7 separate regions of the Homo sapiens genome follow, and all the other regions are linked to region 1. Evidence: promoter capture Hi-C in 16 types of primary human blood cells and fetal thymus (Javierre and others, 2016). All regions are on one chromosome and are shown on one strand. The core of a region is centred on a gene start or on the middle of the fragment in contact, and the rest is flanking DNA. Distances in the headings are between cores, read along the strand shown. Region 1 holds the start of DNAJC21 (DnaJ heat shock protein family (Hsp40) member C21). Region 2 overlaps MTMR12 (myotubularin related protein 12). Region 3 overlaps LOC124900954 (a long non-coding RNA gene). Region 4 has its middle 3.7 kb from the start of NUP155. Region 5 has its middle 4.5 kb from the start of GOLPH3. Region 6 overlaps GOLPH3 (golgi phosphoprotein 3). Region 7 overlaps ZFR (zinc finger RNA binding protein).

Region 1 (3,025 bases), core at 149-2,648:
CAAAATGGTAACTCCCTCCCTGAATTCCTGGAGCATATATTAGTTGTTCCATTAATCTAACCACCAATTATGTATGTTGCGATTTTTTTCTGGCAGTTGTATTTAACTTTTCATTTGTGTAAGGCAGAAAGTTGTTTTCCTAACAAGACTCTAAGACCCCTGTCTCAGCATTTCCAAATCTACTTAGTAGAGTGCAGTGACTTGCATATATTGGATACTCTGTAACCGTGTTTACTGATGAATGCTAATATGAAAGCCTCTTCATATGAACCTCAAAAAGCTGAAAGTCAACTACTCTCTTAGTTTCCCAGCCTGGAAGATCAGATTACTTCATAAAAGTCACACAGGCCTGGATTACAGACCAATGAAACATCCAAAGGAAGGATACTTCTAAGTAAACATACAAACTTTACTGGGGAAGCCGCCTGATTAAAACCTTCCCCGGCAGAATCATGTCCAAAGTGAAGTACAAGGTCTGCTTAAACAGCTTATTAAAAGAAAAAAAAAACAGCGAAAAAAGCGCATCCCTATTGAAAAGATATTTTACTAGCTCCCGTGTCTTAACTTCTTAACTAAGAAACGAAAAGAGCCATACATCAGGTTGAAGTATCTGGGATTCCCGGACGAGGTGGAGGGCAGCGGAGGAAAAACACCGAGAGGCTGCGCTGCAAGGGACGCAGGGAAAAGCAAGCCTGGGGCAGGTCTGAGTTCCGAGTTCCCGACTGCTCCCTCGTGGTGTCTGCGACCCGGTAGCGGGAGCAAGTGAGGTTGTTGGACTGCAGTTTTCCCCCTACAGTGGCGATGCGGGGCCGGGGTCGCGGGTATGAGGAGATGGGGTGTGAGCCGGGGTGCGCCAGGGCAGAGCGCTTCGCCCACCGAGACGGGCAGGGCGGCTCCGGGCACTGGCCGGGCGGGGCAAGGAGCTCCTAGGCCGCCAGGTCCCTCTCTGCTGGCTCCGCGGAGTCCGCCCGGGGGAAGGGAAGGTCGGGGAGGGCCGGGCTTCTCCGAGTGGCCGCGGGGGCTGCGGGACAGGTACTTACCCGGGTGCCATTTCAGGGCCAGCTTCCGATAGGCCTTCTTGAGCTCCTCCTCGCTGGCGTCGCGCCGCACCCCCAGCGCCTCATAGTGACACTTCATCGCCCGACCGGGCGGGCGGCCGGCGCTGGGGCCCGGGACGGGGTCGGGGCCCGGGCCCGGGCCGAAGCGGCGGCGGCGGCGGCGCTGGCAGTCCTCTCCGGCGGGAGTCCGCCGCCCGCACCGGGCCAGCCAGCGAGCCCGGCGGCGGCGGCGGCGGCGGCGGTGGTGTAGGTCAGTGAAGGCGCGCGGTGGCGGCAGACGACGCAGGCTGCGGCAAGCGGGAGCGCGGCGGGGGCGGTGCCGGCGGCCGCCGCTTCGCATGGGCTAGGGGTGGGCTCTGTGCCGGAAAGGGCCGCGCGGGAGGGGGTGGGGCCTCGGCGGGGTGAGAGGCGAGGCCCCGAGGAAGGAAGGCGGGGCCTTGGCGAGGAGAGAGGCGGGCCGCGCAGGAGAAAGGCGGGAGCTTGGCGGGGAAAGAGGCGGGCCGCGTGGGAGGAAGGTAGGCCTTGGCCGGGAAGAACAGGAGGAAGGCGGGACCTTGGTGTGAGAGGCGGGGCCTCGGCGGGGCGAGAGGCGGGGCCGCGCGGAAGGGAGGCAGGGCCACGCTGGTGTCATTGTGAGGGGCACAGATGGCGGTCAGTGTGAGTGGCAGCCGACCTGAGGGCTGAAGGGGGAGATAGGAGCTGGGATGGGAGAGGATTCTGGAAAATATCTGATTATAATTTCTCAATGGATCCCCGTTTTTATAGATAAGGCGATTCAGACTCCAAGTGGTCAAGTGGTTGGCTCAAGCCTCCTCAGCTAATACAGTAGCAGAATTCGGTTGGACTGAATATCAGGTTTTTTTTTTAATCTCTTTAATTCTCTTCAGCTGCCACTTAAGATATCTGGTATTGATCATCTTGACCAATATGCTTGAGAAAGGACAGTTAGATTATTTAAGCGGAAACAATTTAAAAGGGAAGCATCAACACACTTAATGAAAAGCCTTACCACCAACATGGATGAAATTGTGCTGATCTATCCATCCAACACACTTTAATCCTAACTTTCTGGCCTCTAATCCTACCTTTCCAAGATTGGTTTAGGTTAAGAAAGCAGTTAAAGGATAGTATTTAACTGGTAGGTTTTGGTTGATCTGACTATCTGCACAATTATTCCAAACACTTTGAAAGGTATCAAAATAATACCATAATTATTAAAATGCATTAATACACCAATATATTTCACTGTAATGTGGAATGTTTACATGCATCAGTTAGGTGTGGGTTGTATTTACTAACCATGTATGGTTAGCTATGTTGCTAATATCTATTGCACAGGGTTGGCGTACCCAAGCGGTTTAGTAAGGTTATCCTTCTCTTCCCCAATATGCTGCCCCCAGTAAAATAAAAAACCCACGCTAAGCTTCATCAGGTTACTTCACACGCCACTGACCAACCAACTCACTACTCAGAATTCATACACTTCCCTTTTTTCCAGAGGAAGATTCTACACAGTCTCAGTTAGTTGGTAAATTGGTAATGGATAAGGATTGAGAAGTCTGAGTTTGGGGGAGAATGAAACCTTTCCCCTCCTGAGAACAGAATTGGGATGGTGGGCGGGGGGAAGGGAGGGACAAAAAAAAAAAAAAAAACGGAAAGGGAAAGTATTTTTTTCCCTCCAACTTAATTTGGAGTATTTTCTCCCTCCAACTTGATTTGGTTTTGGATACAGCCTGTAGGAATCACTTACTTCTTTTACCTTCTGAAGTAAGAAGGATTTTTGCCTGTAACATTGTATAATTAAAGGTAACTATGCTGGATATAAATTTCAGTCTAAAGGAACATCTTGACCAGGCGTGGTGGCTCATGCCTGTAATCCCAGCACTTTGGGAAGCCGAGGCAGGAGGATCCCTTCAGCCCAAGAGTTCAAGACGAGCCTGGGCAACATAGCGAGAACTTGTCTCTAC
Region 2 (3,260 bases), core at 692-3,191, 2.6 Mb after region 1:
GGCTGGTCTCGAACTCCTGACCTTGTGATCTACCCACCTCGGCTTCCCAAAGTGCTGGGATTACAGGCGTGAGCCACCGTACCCAGCCCCTCTTTCCTAATTTCTAATGGTCTCTCTTCAAAGGTTAAATTTTGTCCATTTATCACATCTCTTTAGTGGTTCATTTAAGATATGAGTAAATCAAATCAAGTAAAATCATAACTAGCATAAATAAAATCAAATTGTCTCTGAAACTAATACTCTCTTTATTTCAAAGGCAGTTGTAAAACCATGCTGTTTTGATTTCATATTTAAATGCTTTTCCTAAAATAATAGCCATCACTTTTCCCTCTCGTACCCTGTCCTTCATTTCCTATAGGCCTGGCTGGTGCACAGGCTTTCAGAGGTGGCATGCAAAACCTCAGTTGTTTTGGGAAGGGAGGGATTTCAGCCGTAAGATAGGGCTTATGTATAAGTGGGGGCAAGGGAAGCCCTGGCCACAGTGATGAAATATGTTGAAGATGACCTTCCTCTTGTGACAGATTGCCAGCTCCTGTTTCAGACAATGTTTTTTGTTTTTTGTTTTTGTTTTTGTTTTTTTGCTTTTGCTAAGAGTTTTTTTGTTTGTTTTTTATTTTTTGTTTATTTTTATTTTTATTATTATTTTTTGAGATGGAGTAGTCTCTGTCACCCAGGCTGGAGTGCTGTGGCACAATCTCTGCCTCCCAGTTTCAAGCGATTCTTGTGGTATCTCAGCCTCCTGAGTAGCTAGGGTTACAGGGGTGTGCCACCATGCCCGGTTAATTTTTGTATTTTTAGTAGAGACAGGGTTTCGCCATGTTGGCCAGACTGGTCTCAAACTCCTACCCTCAGGTGATCCACCCACCTCGGCCCCCCAAAGTGCTGGGATTACAGGCATGAGCCACTGCGCCCAGCCTTTGCTAAGAGTATTGAAGTATTTGAGAACACTTGAAGTGAATGAGTCCTGTTTTTCAAATAAAAAAATCTATGTTCCTCCAAACATAAAATTGAATCCCTTGAGATCAACTTCCCAATGTGTCCCTGTCCTTGGAAGAAGTAATGATTCTCTTTCACTCTTGGTCTCCCCGTGAATATTTGCCTCCTGTCTATGCAAACCACTGGGAATAGCACTTTCCCTAGGGGGTCAGTCAGTCTGTGGTATTGGGTATCTTGCTAGTTAAAGAAGGGAATCTGGGGTTCAGATCCCAGGGATGAGTTGTTTGGCATCAGCAAGTACCCCTGTTTTATCTCTGAGGGACTCCTGGGCTGGCCTCAGTGTTTATACTTTGTGCCTTCTCCTTTGATGCCCAAATGTATTCTCTTGGCCCCTCTTTTTTCACTCTTTACCTACCTACCTACCTGTCATCTGTCTGCAGCCCCCAGCCCCACCCCAGCTTGCCTAGTTTAGCTTCAAGTTCACTTGCCCTACAAATCTTTTTCTTTCTTTTTTTGAGATGGAGTCTTGCTCTGTTACCCAGCTGCAGTGCAGTGGCGAGATCTCGGCTCACTGCATCCTCCACCTCCCAGGCTCAAGCGATTCTCCTGCCTCAGCCTTCTGAGTAGTTGGGACTACAGGCGCATGCCACCACACCCGGCTAATTTTTGTATTTTTAGTAGAGATGGGGTTTCACCATGTTGGCCAAGCTAATCTTGAACTTCTGACCTCAGGTGATTTACCCGTCTTGGCCTCCCAGAGTGCTGGGATTAGAGGTGTGAGCCACTGTGCCTGGCCCCTACAAATCTCTTTATGCAGCTTTACGTTCTGGAGAAGAGAAGTGGCTGCTTTTTCTCTTTTTGTTTTAATGATCACTTTCTGCTACCTGCTGAATAAAGATGATCTATGCTAAAAGGGTGACAGGAAGAACCTGATGTACCTATAAGTAGTACCTGAGGAGCGCAGTAAGTATGGCAGATGTAATCTGGGTGGCAGACAGAGAGGGGGTATGGGAGCTCTGGGGTGCATGAGAGAGGCCCTCAGTGTGGTGAGGGTGTGGCTGTCTCTGTGTCTGGTCCTGTTACAGAGGAGCAACTGAGGAATAAACCAACCACAGTAGGAGTCTGGGGATGGAAACAAGGTGCCATAGCATTGTGGAAGAGACTTTGATTTTGCAAAGTTCTGATCCAGGCTCAGCCACTTGGTGGTGACCTTAGACATGTAACTTCACCTATCCGAGACTTCCTTTTCTTACCTGTAACGTGAATAGGTGTCTTCCCTGCAGGCTGATTTAGAGGATGAGAAGAAATAAACCATATAAACCCAGCTAAGGACTTGACACATGGCAGATACTCAACAACTGCTAGGTGCTGTTATTATTAATAACTTGAACTGGAAGATTTGTTATTTAAGCAACATTTTTATGTATCTACCATTTGCTAAGCACTATTAAAATTAGGAATGCAAAGAAACAGTCTGTGCACTCAGGAGCTTCACCTTCTCTTGGGGAGATGGCTGGTCACCAGAGTTCTCTGCACAGAGGTCGGAGCTGCCTACTTATGAGGGAGGCATGCCCAAGTGCTCTGGGGGCACAGAGCAAGACCCACTGCAGAACCCAAGGCAGCATCTGGTCTTATGCAAAAGCTGTGTAGGACTTGGAAAGGTCGACATTAAAGCGGGATTTGGTGTGGGGAGGAGGGGGATAATGTAGCAAGCAGGCAAGAGGGGTGTGAAAGGCTCATAGCTGTGTTAGGACTGGGTGACATCTTTCCCCATCTCTTATGTAAGGTGTGTGCACACATGTGTGATGGTGAGAGAGAAGTCTTGAGGAATAGAATCCAAGGGTCGCTGCTCGGACCTGCAGGAGTATCTCCAAGATTCTATGAGGATTCCTTCTTTCTGTGACATGCTGCTGTACCATAGATCAGTCTGGCCCTTAGTGAGCCTGTGGGCACCTCTCATCTGTCCCTGGTTCCTCTTGCCTTCTTCCTGCTCCAAGCCTTTTAACTTCTCCCAGCTCTTCCCCTAACTTAATGTTTATAGAGCAGTTTTGGAGGCGGTGGTAGAAGGGGAGGCACAGATGGCAATGCCATGTGTCTCTGCAGCTGCTGTCAGTCACATCCGTTAGCTTAAATCATAAAGCAGTGACAGCCCCATAACTGCCACCTGACACCTTTTTTCTGGCACTTGTACATATCCCAGCACAACAATCTTTACTTTCAGTATAATGTGGTAGTTAAGAGCATGGCTTTGGTGTCACACAGGGCTTCCTACTTGCTAATGGTGAATTTGGGCTGGGTGTTTAACTTCTCTGAGCCTCAGTTTT
Region 3 (3,036 bases), core at 215-2,714, 2.4 Mb after region 1:
CCACTTTTTGTCCAGGGCTTACAACAATACATGGCATACAGTAATTGTTCAATAAATATTTTTCTAGTTAATAAATTTTTCTCTGCTAAAAATTTGGGAAACCATTGTGCTAAGGCATTGCTTCGTAAACCCGACAAAGTCAAAACTTGCAATTTAACTTACTGTTAAATTGCCCATATAATATATTTTTTAAATATAGCTCATGAGGCCCTGCTGAATCAGACTCTTCAGGGTGGGTGTTGGCATTGCTGTTATGAATCTCCCCCGGTGATGCTGAAAGAGCTTTCTGCAGACCCTAGTTTGCAAGCCACTGCTCTGAGAGGTACTGGCTCTGCTTGGCCTCAGGGCCAGTGACATCTATGGTTACTTTCCCAGGCCTAAGAGATCTTACTCTGGCCCAGAGCCACAGTCAACAACTGTACAGTCTGGAATTTTTATCTGTATCTATTGTCATGACAGTCCACTGGCTATGGCTGGCTTCACTCTAACCATTAGACTTTTCTTTTCTTTTCTTTTCTTTTTTTCTGAGACAGAGTCTCGCTCTGCCGCAGTGGCACAATCTCATGTGACTGCAGTGGCACAATCTCCGCTCACTGCAACCTCCGCCTTCCGGGTTCAAGCAATTCTCCTGCCTCAGCCTCCCAAGTAGCTGGGATTACAGGCACCCACCACCATGCCCAGCAAATTTTTGTATTTTTAGTAGCGACAGGGTTTCACCATGCTGGCAAGACTGGTCTCGAACTCCTGACCTCAGGTGATCTGCCCACCTCGGCCTTCTAAAGTGCTGGGATTACAGGCATGAGCAACCGCGCCTGGCCACCATTAGACTTTTCAATGTGACTGCAAGCCTGAGGAGCACTACAAGCCAGTCTTTCCCTAGACCTCAACTGTAGACCTTCTTTCTTATTGTTAACTAGTAGCAATTAAAGCCATTCTGGATTGAATATCAGAAGTTCTCCATGACTGGAGAAAAGAATCTCACCACTTCTAACACCCTGTAATTCTTCCCTCTTACCCCCAACCCCCGCTCACCAAGGACTTGAGGGATAAGCTTATGCCATGCAACGGGGTTCCCCTTTCCCCTCCACCTATAGAAAGTGGCAGTAGGTCCCATAGATTCAGTTCTTCTTTCAAGGTCAAGGACAGTGTAGGAAATGGTAACATCTTCCACTCCATTCCATTACACTGGGGCCACCCACTGATGGTGGCCCTAAAGAGAAAAAAGAACTCCTGACTCAATTTTACATGCTTGCTTCGAGTCCCACTTCCCCTTTTCTCCTAGGAGGAAGAAGGACTTTATCATACTAGCAAATCTGAAGATTATCTAAAGATATTCAATTATGTATCTATAGTCAGAGTAGACCCACAGTGTGAGGAAGACCAGGCTATGGCAGCAGGGCTGCCCCTTAGGCAGAGTGGGGGTAGAAGAGTGAGGGTGGGAATAGGGGTGTTGGCTGAGGAGATGGAAGGGGAAGCAGGAAGGCAGGGTAAATCTGGATGAGCATGAGATAGAGCCCAGTCAACAAAGCACAGTACCCATGAGGGTGCAGCAATCTCCAATCCCAGTGCAAGCAAATCACTGGCCCCAGGGACTTGAGAAGCCTCAAGATGGCCTCACAGGAGTGCAAAGGAAATAAAAATAGTCTCTCTAGCACTTTGCCACCCAAGGGGTGGTCCTCCAACCAGCAGTGGCAGCATCACCCAAGCGTTTGTTAGACATGCAGAATCTCACGTCCCACCACCTAACTTAACAAGACCTCAGCATGATTTGAATGCACATTAAAGTGCTCTGAACCAGCTTGAGAACAAGCACAACTCAGTATTAAAACACAGTAGATGGTTCAGCTGAGGCTGCGTCTAGGCAACTCTCAAGCTTTGATGCACATAAGAATTGCCTGGAAAGATTCTGATTCAGGCAGAATCAGAATTTTCGGGTGCAGAATTTGGGTAGGGCACAAGAATCTATATTTTTAGCAAATGCACAGATGATTCTGATTCCAGAGGTTCCAACTGCTTTACTTCTGAACAGAGGACATGAAGTTCCCACTTACGTGTGTGCAGAATAATATTTTAAATTCTTAACTCATTGTTTCCATGTATGTGTCTCTTTTGCTCATTGCCCACTTCCAGCAGATAGGCCATTTTGTGCCCGTTGCCATTTGGAAAGGGTGTAAGAAGACTGAAGTCTAAAGAACAGAGAGACAGACAGATAGACTTCTTCCTGACTGTGGCTCCCAAAAGCCTATAGCCTTTGGTTGTACTTGTACAATGCAAACAAATGCCAGTAGATAGACAGGCTATTAAGTGTGAGTCCCAGTGGATTAGGAACTCAGAATTCAGTTGCGGTAGAAAATAAAGAAAGCAGAATATGGAGTGAAAATTGCACCAGCTACATGGGAAGGTTGGCAGGAATTTAGCTCAAGAACATTCTTTTAAAGAGTCCCCTGGTGGGGCCCCTGGTGGGGCACCTCTGGTGCAGCAGACTCTCTCGGCACTACCTCCAACGTTTCTCCAGAGAATCCTGGGCTTTTCTACCAAATGTCCAATTTTCCTTATTCTTTCTTCATGTATTTTCTCTATTCTCCTCAACATTGCCTTTAATGGCCCATCAGGAGACACCACCATGACCCTTTCAAACTAGAGAACCCAAACAACAGCGGAGAAAACAGCGATTCTTTTGATCCACTTTCTCCCGGGCCAGGGAAAACCCAGTGTTTCAAAACACGTGCTTTCCCTACCATTCCTGGAGAGAGAATGAACCATGTGAGTCTTTCCTGGGTGAGGCCAGTTTCATGCCTGACCTGCTCTCCAATCAGCAGAGAAAAGGACAATGTTTCCCTATTAAAACCAGATGAACTTTCACAGCTACTCCCCAAATATTCTTATCAATGTCGTCCTTCACTGGAAGTTAGGGTGAAATATGTATTAGCGCTTGGCAGAAATGCCAGCTAATTGCAGCTAAGATAGTGTTGCAATTTCTACCCTCCTAAATTTCTCAACGGCAAAGTTCAGCTTTCCTAAAGCTTCGGGGTCTTT
Region 4 (3,053 bases), core at 506-3,005, 2.4 Mb before region 1:
ATGTGATCAATCCAGGTATCTATTGTGTAAAACTTCCTCCTGGTGCCCGCCTCCCCATAGGATAAATACATACAGCCTACTTCACCGGCCCTGCTGACACTGACGTCCTACATGGACTGTGCAGATATGCCACAGTGACTACCTCGGTCACAGCATGACTTCCAAGAACGGGGTGTCCAATCTTTTGGCTTCCCTAGGCCACAATGGAAGAAGAAGAATTGTCTTGGGCAACACATTAAATACACTAACAACAGCTGAGAACTTTAAAAAAATCACAAATCTCACAATGTTTTAAGAAAGTTAACGAATTTGTGTTGGGCCACATTCAAAGCCATTCTGGGCTGACAAGCTTGTCCTCAAATTTGTGCATGCTTGCTTTAAACCCACCAATTAAAGTGTGGGAATTCCTCTTGGGAAATCTATTTGGAAAACACCATGAACCCAATAAATGCATTGGCTCATGAGTCCCTCTTTGTCTTTCCCTGACTGCATTCCTTGACCTCCAGGTGCGCCAGATGCCCCGCCAGGCATGTAAGTAATAAAATCTTTGTTTATATCTGTGTTTCTACTAATCATTGAAGAAGCATGCTCTATCTTAAAATTCCTAAATTAAAACAGTCCCTTAAAATAAATCAAGGCAGTAGGATTCAAAATGTTGTAGTAGTCACTGTATTTTTCAGTTACATAGGCGTTGTAAGCAAAATCAGTTTCCCTTAGGAATATCCTTAATAAAGCCATAAACAGTATTCATTTCGTTAAACCCTGACCCTTAATTATACGTCTTTTTAACCTTCAGTATGACAAAATGAGAAGTAATCATAAAGTATGTTTTTAAAAAAATTTCTTACAGATGGGGTCTCACTGTGTTACCCAGACTGGAGTGCAGTGGCTATTTACAAGTTCAGTCATGAAGCACTTTAGCCTCAAACTCCTGGACTCAAGCGATCTTCCCCTGCCTCAGCTTCCTGAGTAGATGGGACCACAGGCATACGCCACCATGCCCAGCTAATGCATATCTAAGTAGAATGGTCATCGAAAAGAAAACCACTTGTAATTGAGTGGTTAGCTTTTTTCATGGAACATTATTTTTACCTGAAAGAATGACTCACAAAGTACAGTTGTTCATATTTAAGTATTTGGCAAACATTTTTTCAAAAATAAATGAAATGAGTTTATCACTTTAAGAAAAACAGGTCAGGCATGGTGGCTTACACGGGTAATCCCAGCACTTTGGAAGCCGAGGTGGGAGGATCACCCAAGGCCAGGAGTTCGAGACCAGCCTGGCCAACATGGTGAAACCCCGTCTCTACTAAAAATACAGAAAATTAGCCAGGCGTAGCTGGGTGCGGTGGCTCACGTCTGTAATCCCAGCGCTTTGGGAGGCCAAGGCGGGTGGATCACCTGAGGTCAGGAGTTCAAGACCAGCCTGACCAACATAGTAAAACCCCCGTCTCTACTAAAAATACAAAAAAATGAGCTGGGCATGGTGGTATGTGCCTGTAATCCCAGCTACTCGGAAGGCTGAGGCAGAATTGCTTGAACCTGAGAGGCAGAGGTTGCAGTGAACAGAGATCATGCCACTGCACTCCAACCTGGGCAACAAGAGCAAAACTCCATCTCAAAAAAAAAAAATAAAGAAAAGAAAATTAGCCTGTAATTCCAGCTACTCAGGAGGCTGAAGCAGGAGGATTGCTTGAACCTGGGAGGCAGAGGTTGCAATGAGCTGAGATCGCACCATTGCACCCCAGCCTAGGCGACAAGAGCAAAACTCTGTTTAAAAAAAAAAAAAAACTGACTGCACTTGTTGACAATTATTAAAATACTTCTTCTTTTTCTAAATATGTAACTGAGGCCAGTTTTTCCTTCTTTCTTTCTTTCTTTTTTTTTGAGACAGAGTTTCGCTCTTGTAGCCCAGGCTGGAGTGCAATGGCACGATCTCAGCTCACTGCAACCTCCGCCTCCCAGGTTCGGGCAATTCCCCTGGCTTAGCCTCCCAAGTAGCCGGGATTACAGGCTTGCGCCACCATGCCCCACTGATTTTTGTATTTTTAGTAGAAACGGGGTTTCACCATGTTGGCCAGGCTAGTCTCGAACCTCTGACCTCAGGCAATCCACCCGCCTCGGCCTCCCAAAGTGCTGGGATTACAGGTGTGAGCCAGCGCGCCTGGTGAGGCCAGCTTTTCTTAATATTAATATATTATACTTCAACTAAATAAGTCACAAAATGTTGACATGTTAGACAAAGTAGCAAACATAAAAAACCAAGTTTGCTCATTCTGCTTGCCAGCAGAATTTCACAAAGCCCAACTCAGTGACTAAGTATAGACTTCTAGAAGAATGCCCTGGAAACAATAAGCAGGTTAGAGCACAGGTTCCCACGTCTCTTGCTTCAATCAATGCATTTTTTAAAAAAAGGTAAGTTCAGTGTTCCTACCCCTTGCCTCTTCCAGTACATAAGATAGTGTCCCATAGGATTCATGATTATGCCTCTGTAATCTATAACCAGATGTACTCTTACACCCAAACTTTGATGAGATTTTGCTCTAATGTAATTTATGAGCTTTTTTTTTTTTTTTTTTTTTTTTTTTTAGAGACAGAGTCTCCCTTTATCAACCAGACTAGAATGCAGTGGCATGGTCATGGCTCACTGCAACCTGGAACTCCTGGGCTAAAGTGATGCTCCTGCCTCAGCCCACCAAGTAGCTGGGACTACAGGTCCACACCTGGCTGCCCAGGTTGGTTTTGAATGCCTGGCCTCAAGAGACCCTCATGCATAGGCCTCTCAAAGTGCTAGAATTACAGGTGTGAGTCACTATACCCAGTTTATGAGCATGTTTAATGTAATTTCTGAGCACATGCAGAGCTTCCAACCCCTGACATGTAAGCTGTGGGCTAAAAGCTACTTTGGAGCAGTCTTAACAGAAACTCTCTGAAAGGTTGCAATCCTGAGTCTGAATCAAACTGACTTTAATTCTTTAAAAGAGGGTTATTTTTCTTCAATTGACAGCAGATACAGATATGAGAATCCAGCCATCCGTTACTGAGCCAGACAC
Region 5 (3,088 bases), core at 104-2,603, 2.8 Mb after region 1:
AAAGTAGTGGTTGCCAGGAGTCGGAGATAGAGTCGGGAGAGGGGCTGGAGCTGCCATGACTGTAAAGGGGCAACATGAGGGATCTCTGTGATGATGGAACAATTTTATATCTTTTTTTATTTGTTTATTATGTTTTTTAGAGACAGGATATTACTCTGTGACCTAGGCTGGAGAGCAGTGGCACAGTCAGAGCTTACTGTAGCCTCAAATTCCTGGGCTCAAGTGATCCTCTTGCCTCAGCCTTCCAGGTAGCTGGGACTACAGGCATCGCCACCATGCCTGGCTAATTTTTTTTAAAAAGTCCGTAGGGACGGGGTCTCGCTATGTTGACCAGGCTGGTCTCCAACTCCTGGGCTCAAGCAATCCTCCTGCTTCAGCCTCCCAAAGTGCCGGAATTACAGTTGTGTGCCACCATGCCTGGCTTATTTTTATATGTTGATTGTGGTGGTATTGACACAAATCTACATGTAGTACAATTGCATAGAATGACACACACATAAATCAATGCACATAAAACCCATGAAATCTGAATAATGTCTGTGGATCATACCAATATTAATTTCCTGGTTTTGATAGTGCTATAGTTACATGTTACTACTGGGGGAAACTAAGGGTATACAAGCTCTCTCTGCACTAATTTTGCAATTCCTGTGAATTTATTTCAAATTTTTAAAAATCAGATTTTGAGTCATGATAATAAAGGCTTCTTCTCTCCTTGATTACAAAAGAATTTACCCATAGTTTTCTTCTGGTGCCTTTCATTTTCTAGGCATTTTGAAATTTTTATTGGGTTAAAACAGAAAGACTCTGGGCCGGGTGTGATGGCTCACACTTGTAATCCCAGCACTTTGAGAGGCCGAGGCAGGTGGATCACGAGGTCAAGAGATTGAGACCATCCTGGCCAACATGGTGAAATCCCACCTCTACTAAAAATACAAAAATTAGCTGGGCGTGGTGGCGCGTGCCTGTAGTCCCAGCTACTCAGGAGGCTGAGGCAGGAGAATCACTTGAACCCAGGAGGCAGAGGTTGCATCGAGCCAAGATCGTGCCACTGCACTCCAGCATGGTGACAGAGCAAGACTCCATCTCAAAGCAAAATCAAAACCAAAAAACAACAATAAAAAAAACCCAGAAAGACTCTGTACATAGAACTACCTACACAACAAATTCTCTTGGAAGTTTTATATACTTCTTAAAAGCTTAACTGAAATAAACTCACGCAAACCTGGTCATTGCCCAGCGATCCCTATATCATCCTCTCCTACACAAGCCAGAAGTGGGAGTAATCCTCGACATCTCCGCTCCTTTATGCCCCAACACTCCGTAGTCAGTCTTTCATTGAGTTGTGTCAGTTTAACTTACTAACTATCTCTTGAATACATTCACTTACCACCCTTTCTTCTTCCACTATTGTGGTCGAACTTACCATCAGGTTCTGTAGGACTACTGCAAAAATGAGCTGCTTCTGTATCCTATATCCATGCCTTGGGTATATCCTGCAAGCTTTTCAAAATGCAAATCTGGTAACATCTCTCACCCACCCATCTCCTCTTCCCCCACGGAGGGCATTTAAAAGTACCCTTGATAGCTTCCCATTGAGTTTGGTTGGATAAAGACCAGATTTTGGCCAGGCACGATGGCTCACACCTGTAATCCCTGCACTTCGGGAGGTCAGGGCGGGCGGATCGCTTGAGCCCAAGAGTTCAAGACCTGGGCAACATGGTGAAACCCTGTCTCTACAGAAAAAAACAACACACAAAAAAACAAAAATCAGCAGTGTGGTGGCATGCACCTGTAGTCTCAGCTACTTGGGAGGCTGAGGTGGGAGGATCGCTTGAACCCAGGAGGCAGAGCCAAAATTGCGCCACTGCACTCCAGCCTGGGCAACAGAGCGAGACCCTGTCTAAAAAAAAAAGACCCAAATCTTAAAATGGCCTTAAAATGGACAGCACTGTATGATTTGGACCTTGTCTGTAACTATTGCTTTTGCCATCACTCCCTCCCTCAGCCCAGGTAAAAACTCTTCTACTTGGTTCTCCTCCATCCCATGATCTGTCTTTTGCTACAGGGCCTTTGCATATTTCCTCTCAGGAATGTCCTCTACCTCCAACTTGGTTAACTTCAGTTCATTCTTTGGCTTATGACTTCTTCAGAGCAGCTTTGAGTCCCAGATAAAAACTTAGGTTTCTCACATATATGACAGTACATGATCTCATAGGACTGTATTCCTTCTTTCAAAGCATTTCTACATTTCTACATTAATTAGCATCAGGATTTGCTTAATATCTGTGCCCTTCATTAAACTGTCAGTTTCATGAAAAGTATGGCTATGTCTCTTTTGGCTTAGTATTGTATCTTTATTGCTTATGACAATGCCTGGCATGCAGCAAACATGTAGAAATATACTTGTTTGATACTGAATTAAGGACCAGGGTTCTAATCCAGGTCTGTGATTTTCCAGAAGTGTTAAGTTGGGCAGATTACTTAACTTCTCTGAACTGTTTCTTCATAGGTAAAATGGGCATCTTAATCTGTGTTCCCTAGGAAGCAGGGCCTAAGACAAAGTCTTTTGTGCTTTATTAGGGAGTGCAACAGCTGGGAGCAGAAGCTAGTGGAGGGAAGCGAGGAGTGAAGGGGTCGTTGAGCTTGCTGGAGCTAAATGCTACTGAGAAGTTGTATAAACGATCTCAGGACAGTTCATGTGAGGAAAGAAAGGGGTCCTGTTATCCACCTGCTTGAAGTGCTTACTCTCCCACACTTGTAGGTAGGCATGGAGGTGCTGCCAGACCGCACTGCATGAGATGGTTGCAGTCCATGTGGAGCTGGTCAGCACAGCAGCAGCACCTAACCTGCAGGGTCCTGGTGGGGGTTGCTGGAGACCGCGCCTGGCACATCTCAGCAGGCAATAAACAAACAATCAAGGCCAGGCGCGGTGGCTCATGCCTGTAATCCCGGCACTTTGGGAGGCCGAGGCTGCTGGATTGCCTGAGGTCAGGAGTTCAAGACCAGTCTGGCCAACATGGTGAAACCCCGTCTCTACTAAAAATACAAAAAAATTAGCTGGGCGTGCCAGGCGCGGTGGCTCACG
Region 6 (2,932 bases), core at 425-2,924, 2.8 Mb after region 1:
CCAGTTGTTTGCTGTTAAAGTGTCCTGACCTCATCTGGTGATGCCTGCTTGACCAGTATCCCAGATCTCTAGATGTCTATCAACCTCCTTATGTCTGGCCGTTCTTCCACTGTGGATGCTGCCCTTACATTCTCTCTTGGGGCCAATCTGATTGTTATACTGTTTATTATTGAGAATTTTAGGCCTATAGCCATCCATTTGTTTGTGGGCGCATGTGTGTTTTTCTAATATCTTCTTACAAAATTAACAGTGTGTGTATTTAAGAGACAATGTCGCACTGTTTTGCCCAGGCTGCAGTGTGTTGGTGTAATTATTGCTCACTGTAGCCTTGAACTCTTGGACACAGTGGTCCTCCTGCCTTAGCTTCCTGGGTAGCTGCGACTACAGGTGTGCAGCACCACACCTAGCTAATTAATTTTTTTTGGTAGAAACAGGATCTCACTATGTTGTCCAGTCTGGTCTCAAACTCCTGGGCTCAAGCCATCGTCTTGGCTCAGCCTCCCAAAGTGCTCGGATTAACCTTGTGGTTTTATCCTAAACAGCAATAAATGAATGGTATTCTAATTCTCTGTGAAGCTAACTTGGCTAGGTTGTCTTTGCCTGAGCTTCTTAACTTGTCCACATAAATAAATCACTATAATCTGGGGTTAACTGAGTATTCCTTGGAGTTTGCAGGGTTCTGAAAGAACCTAATAAACACACAGCTTGGTGAAATGTGAGTTATGTTTCTAAACTTATGACCTCTAAAGTTATTTGTTGTTTGTATGTAAGAATAAGTGGTGGAAAGATAAGCCCCCGAAAATTCTCGATTAGTAATTTATGTTAATTGTATTTTTTCAGTATATTATTATAGAAAGACAGGAAAGGTAAAAGGCACCAAATATGACTTTGGCTGATAATATTTCTGTTTTTTACTCTGAATTCAAGGTAAATTAGCTATTTTGTTTTATTTCTTCTTCTTTTTTTAATAGGGTTACACATCATTTTGGAATGACTGTATATCATCTGGATTACGTGGCTGTATGTTAATTGAATTAGCATTGAGAGGAAGGTTACAACTAGAGGCTTGTGGAATGAGACGTAAAAGTCTATTAACAAGAAAGGTAAGAGGAGTGCTGAGTAACATTCTTTTTAAAGAGGTTGTACTGCTTAAAATGTATGTTTTTACTAGTAGCCTTCAAAAATTAAAGTGGAAGTTGATATTAAAGTTGTCTTTCTTCAATTGTATTTCCATATCTTTTTTGCATTCTTGGTTTCCTGGTTCTTTCACCTACAATGAGTAATGTAATTGATTGTTAAGGTAACCGGCCACTGGATCTTACAAATTCAGAAAGATTCTAGACTTCATTTGCAGCTTTTATTTATTTATTTATTTTTAATTTTATTTTATTATTATTATTTTTTATTGATCATTCTTGGGTGTTTCTCGCAGAGGGGGATTTGGCAGGGTCACAGGACAATAGTGGAGGGAAGGTCAGCAGATAAACAAGTGAACAAAGGTCTCTGGTTTTCCTAGGCAGAGGACCCTGCGGCCTTCCGCAGTGTTTGTGTCCCTGGGTACTTGAGATTAGGGAGTGGTGATGACTCTTAAGGAGCATGCTGCCTTCAAGCATCTGTTTAACAAAGCACATCTTGCACCGCCCTTAATCCATTCAACCCTGAGTGGATACAGCACATGTTTCAGAGAGCACAGGGTTGGGTTTAAGGTCACCGATCAACAGGATCCCAAGGCAGAAGAATTTTTCTTAGTGTAGAACAAAATGAAAAGTCTCCCATGTCTACCTCTTTCTACACAGACACGGCAACCATCCGATTTCTCAATCTTTTCCCCACCTTTCCCCACTTTCTATTCCACAAAACCGCCCTTGTCATCATGGCCCGTTCTCAGTGAGCTGTTGGGTACACCTCCCAGACGGGGTGGTGGCCGGGCAGAGGGGCTCCTCACTTCCCAGTAGGCGCGGCCGGGCAGAGGCGCCCCTCACCTCCCGGACGGGGCGGCTGGCCGGGCGGGGGGCTGACCCCCCCCACCTCCCTCCTGGACGGGGCAGCTGGCCGGACAGAGGGGCTCCTCACTTCCCAGTAGGGGCGGCCGGGCAGAGGCGCCCCTCACCTCCCGGACGGGGCGGCTGGCCAGGCGGGGGGCTGATCCCCCCACCTCCCTCCCGGACGGGGCGGCTGGCCGGGCTTGGGGGCTGACCCCCCCACCTCCCTCCCGGACGGGGCGGCTGGCCGGGCAGGGGGCTGACCCCCCCACCTCCCTCCCGGACAGGGCGGCTGGCCGGGCAGAGTGGCTCCTCACTTCCCAGTAGGGGCGGCCGGGCAGAGGCGCCCCTCACCTCCCGGACGGGGCGGCTGGCTGGGTGGGGGGCTGACCCCCCCACCTCCCTCCCGGACGAGGTGGCTGCCGGGCGGAGACGCTCCTCACTTCCCGGACGGGGTGGCTGCTGGGCGGAGGGGCTCCTCACTTCTCAGACGGGGCGGCTGCCGGGCGGAGGGGCTCCTCACTTCTCAGACGGGGCGGTTGCCAGGCAGAGGGTCTCCTCATTTCTCAGACGGGGCGTCCGGGCAGAGATGCTCCTCACATCCCGGACGGGGCGGCAGGGCAGAGGTGCTCCCCGCATCTCAGACGATGGGCGGCCGGGCAGAGACGCTCCTCACTTCCCAGATGTGATGGCGGCCGGGAAGAGGCGCTCCTCACTTCCTAGATGGGATGGCGGCCGGGCAGAGACGCTCCTCACTTTCCAGACTGGGCAGCCAGGCAGAGGGGCTCCTCACATCCCAGACGATGGGCAGCCAGGCGGAGACGCTCCTCACTTCCCAGACGGGGTGGCGGCCGGGCAGAGGCTGCAGTCTCGGCACTTTGGGAGGCCAAGGCAGGCTGCTGGGAGGTGGAGGTTGTAGCGAGCCGAGATCACGCCACTGCGCTCCAGCC
Region 7 (3,034 bases), core at 318-2,817, 2.5 Mb after region 1:
CCTATCAATGCTGTTTCCTGTAGAGATTTAAGTAATAATATTATAAGGGTTTTAGAAGGATTCCTTGGTTAATATCTATCATATATTTATATAGAGAGTTTCATAATCTCACAGTAAAATGTTTTAAAACATTTGGAGTCCTCATTACTAATAGAGAAAGAAGGAAAGTTTCTATTTACAGGTAACATGATTGTTATGCTTGTCAGGCAAGAATATGAGAAGTAATAAGAGTACAGCAAGTTTTCTGGATCTATGATCAGGCAAAGGCCGGGAGCGGTGGCTCATGCCTGTAATCCCTGCACTTTGGGAGGCCGAGGTGGGCAGATCACTTGAGGTTGGGAATTCGAGACCAGCCTGACCAACATGGAGAAACCCCGTCTCTACTAAAACTACAAAATTAGCCAGGCGTGGTGGTGCATGCCTGTAATCCCAGCTACTCGGGAGGCTGAGGCAGGAGAATAGCTTGAATCCAGGAGGTGGAGGTTGCGGTGAGCCAAGATCGCGCCATTGCACTCCAGCCTGGGCGACAAGAGTGAAACTCCGTCTCAAAAAAAAAAAAAAAAAAAAAAAAAAATTTTCAGATAAAATCAGTAGCATTCTTGTTTCATCAATATTGAATTAGATTATTAAATTTCAAATAAGTCCTGTTTATGTATAGCCACCAAATCTATTAAGTAAGCAGGAATAAAACAAATGAAGTATTCAAAACACTTTGAAGAGAAAATACAATAGGATAAAAAAGTCATAAAAGATGACAAAGATGGACTGTGTTCATGAGTGAAAAACCAATGCCATCAAATTATTATCTCCTATATATATTTAGCATTACTCCAATAAAAATCTCATAGGATTTTTGGTATAACTTGATAAAGGGATTTTAATGTATATAGTGAGGAGAGTGTTCAGCTAAAAATATCATGAAAGTCTTGCAGAAATGATAAGGAAGGACTTGTAATATCAGATACCAAAATATTATTAATAGAAAAATGTGGTATTGGTACAGGGATAGACAGATTATTGAGTTAAAATAGAGATCCCAGAGATAGACATGCTTATATAAGCAGTTGGATTAGAGTATATATCTAATATATGTCTGTTTAAATAGATGTATTTGTTAAAAAAAAAATCAGCTACATTTTTACTCAGAGACATAGATCATCAGGTTAATCAGAAGACCATTCAGGCTTATAAATGTTGTAATTGATGAAGTATGTTAGTATTATTTGGATGGATCTTTAGTCTACTTATTAAAGGTTGCTTGACTATTAATTGTCCATGACACCACTCTGTCAGAATACAGGATTAGAGTGATTGTTCTGAGTATATCATTTCTTAGTATTTCATGAAAGCCATGTACAGTACAGCTTTTATTCATACAGAGATAAAATGAATGAAATAAACTTTGGGTTTTTTTTTGTTTTATTTGAATATTAGTCTTGTATACACTTTATATTAAAGTGCATTTGTAGGGAATAATTCACTTATTTAATATTTTATGAGCATCTACAATATGCATAGTCCCTGCTTTCAGGGAGTTTACACTTCTGGGGCATGAGGGTGGAGACAGATGAGTCTACAAATAACTATGCCATTATAATTAAGTTTTAATGAAATACTAAAATGGGAAATTGGAGGATTTTGACTATGGAGTTTGAGGTAGACTTCGTGTTCTTTCATTCTGAAAATCAAGGGAAGGTCATTTTAGACAAAGGAAAAGTATTGAGCCAAGACAAATATCTGGATTGCATGATATAATAGAGACTGGGTTGGCTCTGAAGTCAGACTACCTAAGCTGAATCTGGCTCCTCCTATTACCTGCCATGTGACCTTGGGCAAACAGTCTGTTGTTAGTTTTTTTATCTATAAATTGAAGATAATATTTTCTTTGCCTCATAGGAAAACTGCACATGTAAGAGAAAATGAAATGTCATAAACCGAGTGTACCTGTGTAACTTGCACTTAAATTAAAAACAAAAACAGAACATTATCAGTATCCCAGGAGGTTTTTACATTCTCCATTGTGTTGTTTCGAGGATTCACTATTATTTGTAAGGTGGACCTGGCAGTGACTCACACCTGTAACCCTAGCACTTTGGTAGGCCTAGGCTGGAGGATTTTAATCCCAGGATTTTGAGACTAGCGTGAACAGCAAAGTGAGACTCTGTATTATTAATAAAATGAAGAAAAGAAAACATTATTTGTGAAGTGTTCAGAACAGTATCTGGCATATATTATATCTCTATCAATGTTAGCCATTATTCAGTAGGTGGCTGGTGAATATGGATGAAACTAGAGAAAGTACAGTGCCTGGCATATATCAAGCATTCAGTAGACATGTTTTAAATTATTTATAGAAAAATAAAGAATACAACTATGGGGCCAGGCACGGTGGCTCACGCCTGTATTACCAGCACTTTGGGAGGCTGAGGCGGGCAGATCACAAGGTCAGGAGATCGAGACCATCCTGGCTAACACGGTGAAACCACGTGTCTACTAAAAATAAAAAAAAAAATCAGCCGGGCGTGGTGGTGGGCGCCTGTAGTCCCAGCTACTCGGGAGGCCGAGGCAGGAGAATGGTGTGAACCCAGGAGGCGGAGCTTGCAGTGAGCCGAGATCGCGCCACTGCACTCCAGCCTGGGCGACAGAGCGAGACTCCATCTCAAAAAAAAAAAAAAAAAAAAAAAAAAGAATACAACTGTGGTTACCAACTTTAAGGTAGGACCAGGGAAAGAAAGAAATACTGTGTGAACAGAGAGCCAGGAGAATTTAGGGTCATGAAAACCAAAAGATGATAGCAAGGTCGTCAGCTTTAGAGTTGCTGGATTAGGGATTTAGTACAGTTATCAAGTTACTGGTGTAATTTTAATGAGTAGCCTTTATAAGGAAACTAGAATCTGATCACTTGGAGCTACAGAAAAAAATAGCATAAAATTTTGCTTAAAATAAGTTTGTAGTCTAGTGTTCACATAGATACTTAAGAGCTCCAGAGGTCACATGGGCTTAAAGTATTGGGAAGCACTGTGGTTGAAATCAA

What was found. Contacts are between HindIII fragments. The CHiCAGO score rates a contact against its expected background, and 5 or more counts as called.
Region 2: a fragment that was not itself captured here is called in contact with the fragment with the promoter of DNAJC21 in region 1 in 3 of 17 cell types (neutrophils, naive B cells and activated CD4 T cells); the score reaches 8.4 in neutrophils.
Region 3: a fragment that was not itself captured here is called in contact with the fragment with the promoter of DNAJC21 in region 1 in 1 of 17 cell types (neutrophils); the score reaches 5.9 in neutrophils.
Region 4: a fragment that was not itself captured here is called in contact with the fragment with the promoter of DNAJC21 in region 1 in 11 of 17 cell types (naive CD4 T cells, activated CD4 T cells, total CD4 T cells and 8 more); the score reaches 15.5 in naive CD4 T cells.
Region 5: a fragment that was not itself captured here is called in contact with the fragment with the promoter of DNAJC21 in region 1 in 1 of 17 cell types (total CD8 T cells); the score reaches 5.6 in total CD8 T cells.
Region 6: a fragment that was not itself captured here is called in contact with the fragment with the promoter of DNAJC21 in region 1 in 1 of 17 cell types (neutrophils); the score reaches 5.6 in neutrophils.
Region 7: a contact is called between a fragment that was not itself captured here and the fragment with the promoter of DNAJC21 in region 1, in 2 of 17 cell types (total CD8 T cells and total CD4 T cells). The highest score is 5.2, in total CD8 T cells.

The regions. Positions count from the first base shown.
Region 1 is chr5:34,927,932-34,930,956 of GRCh38, reverse strand. DNAJC21 (DnaJ heat shock protein family (Hsp40) member C21) reads right to left here and starts at 1,398. Exons shown (of 12, transcript NM_001012339.3): 1 at 1,041-1,398. The coding sequence starts at 1,137. LOC124900961 (a long non-coding RNA gene) reads left to right here and starts at 1,276. Exons shown (of 2, transcript XR_007058731.1): 1 at 1,276-1,308; 2 at 1,824-3,025. RefSeq lists enhancers at 633-802, 269-914 and silencers at 943-1,142, 1,173-1,242, 1,253-1,722. The HindIII fragment of the contact is 5,598 bases long and covers 1-2,483 here.
Region 2 is chr5:32,299,265-32,302,524 of GRCh38, reverse strand. The region is part of intron 1 of MTMR12 (myotubularin related protein 12); the gene reads left to right. Among named protein-coding and RNA genes, the nearest start is that of MTMR12, 12 kb to the left of the region's middle. The HindIII fragment of the contact is 5,364 bases long and covers 1-3,260 here.
Region 3 is chr5:32,538,802-32,541,837 of GRCh38, reverse strand. The region is part of intron 4 of LOC124900954 (a long non-coding RNA gene); the gene reads right to left. Among named protein-coding and RNA genes, the nearest start is that of SUB1, 45 kb to the left of the region's middle. The HindIII fragment of the contact is 822 bases long and covers 1,054-1,875 here.
Region 4 is chr5:37,373,238-37,376,290 of GRCh38, reverse strand. No RefSeq gene overlaps it. Among named protein-coding and RNA genes, the nearest start is that of NUP155, 3.7 kb to the right of the region's middle. The HindIII fragment of the contact is 2,807 bases long and covers 352-3,053 here.
Region 5 is chr5:32,177,311-32,180,398 of GRCh38, reverse strand. No RefSeq gene overlaps it. Among named protein-coding and RNA genes, the nearest start is that of GOLPH3, 4.5 kb to the right of the region's middle. The HindIII fragment of the contact is 304 bases long and covers 1,202-1,505 here.
Region 6 is chr5:32,141,920-32,144,851 of GRCh38, reverse strand. GOLPH3 (golgi phosphoprotein 3) reads left to right here. Exons shown (of 4, transcript NM_022130.4): 2 at 972-1,103. Among named protein-coding and RNA genes, the nearest start is that of GOLPH3, 31 kb to the left of the region's middle. The HindIII fragment of the contact is 6,855 bases long and covers 1-2,932 here.
Region 7 is chr5:32,435,794-32,438,827 of GRCh38, reverse strand. The region is part of intron 2 of ZFR (zinc finger RNA binding protein); the gene reads left to right. Among named protein-coding and RNA genes, the nearest start is that of ZFR, 7.4 kb to the left of the region's middle. The HindIII fragment of the contact is 3,794 bases long and covers 1-3,034 here.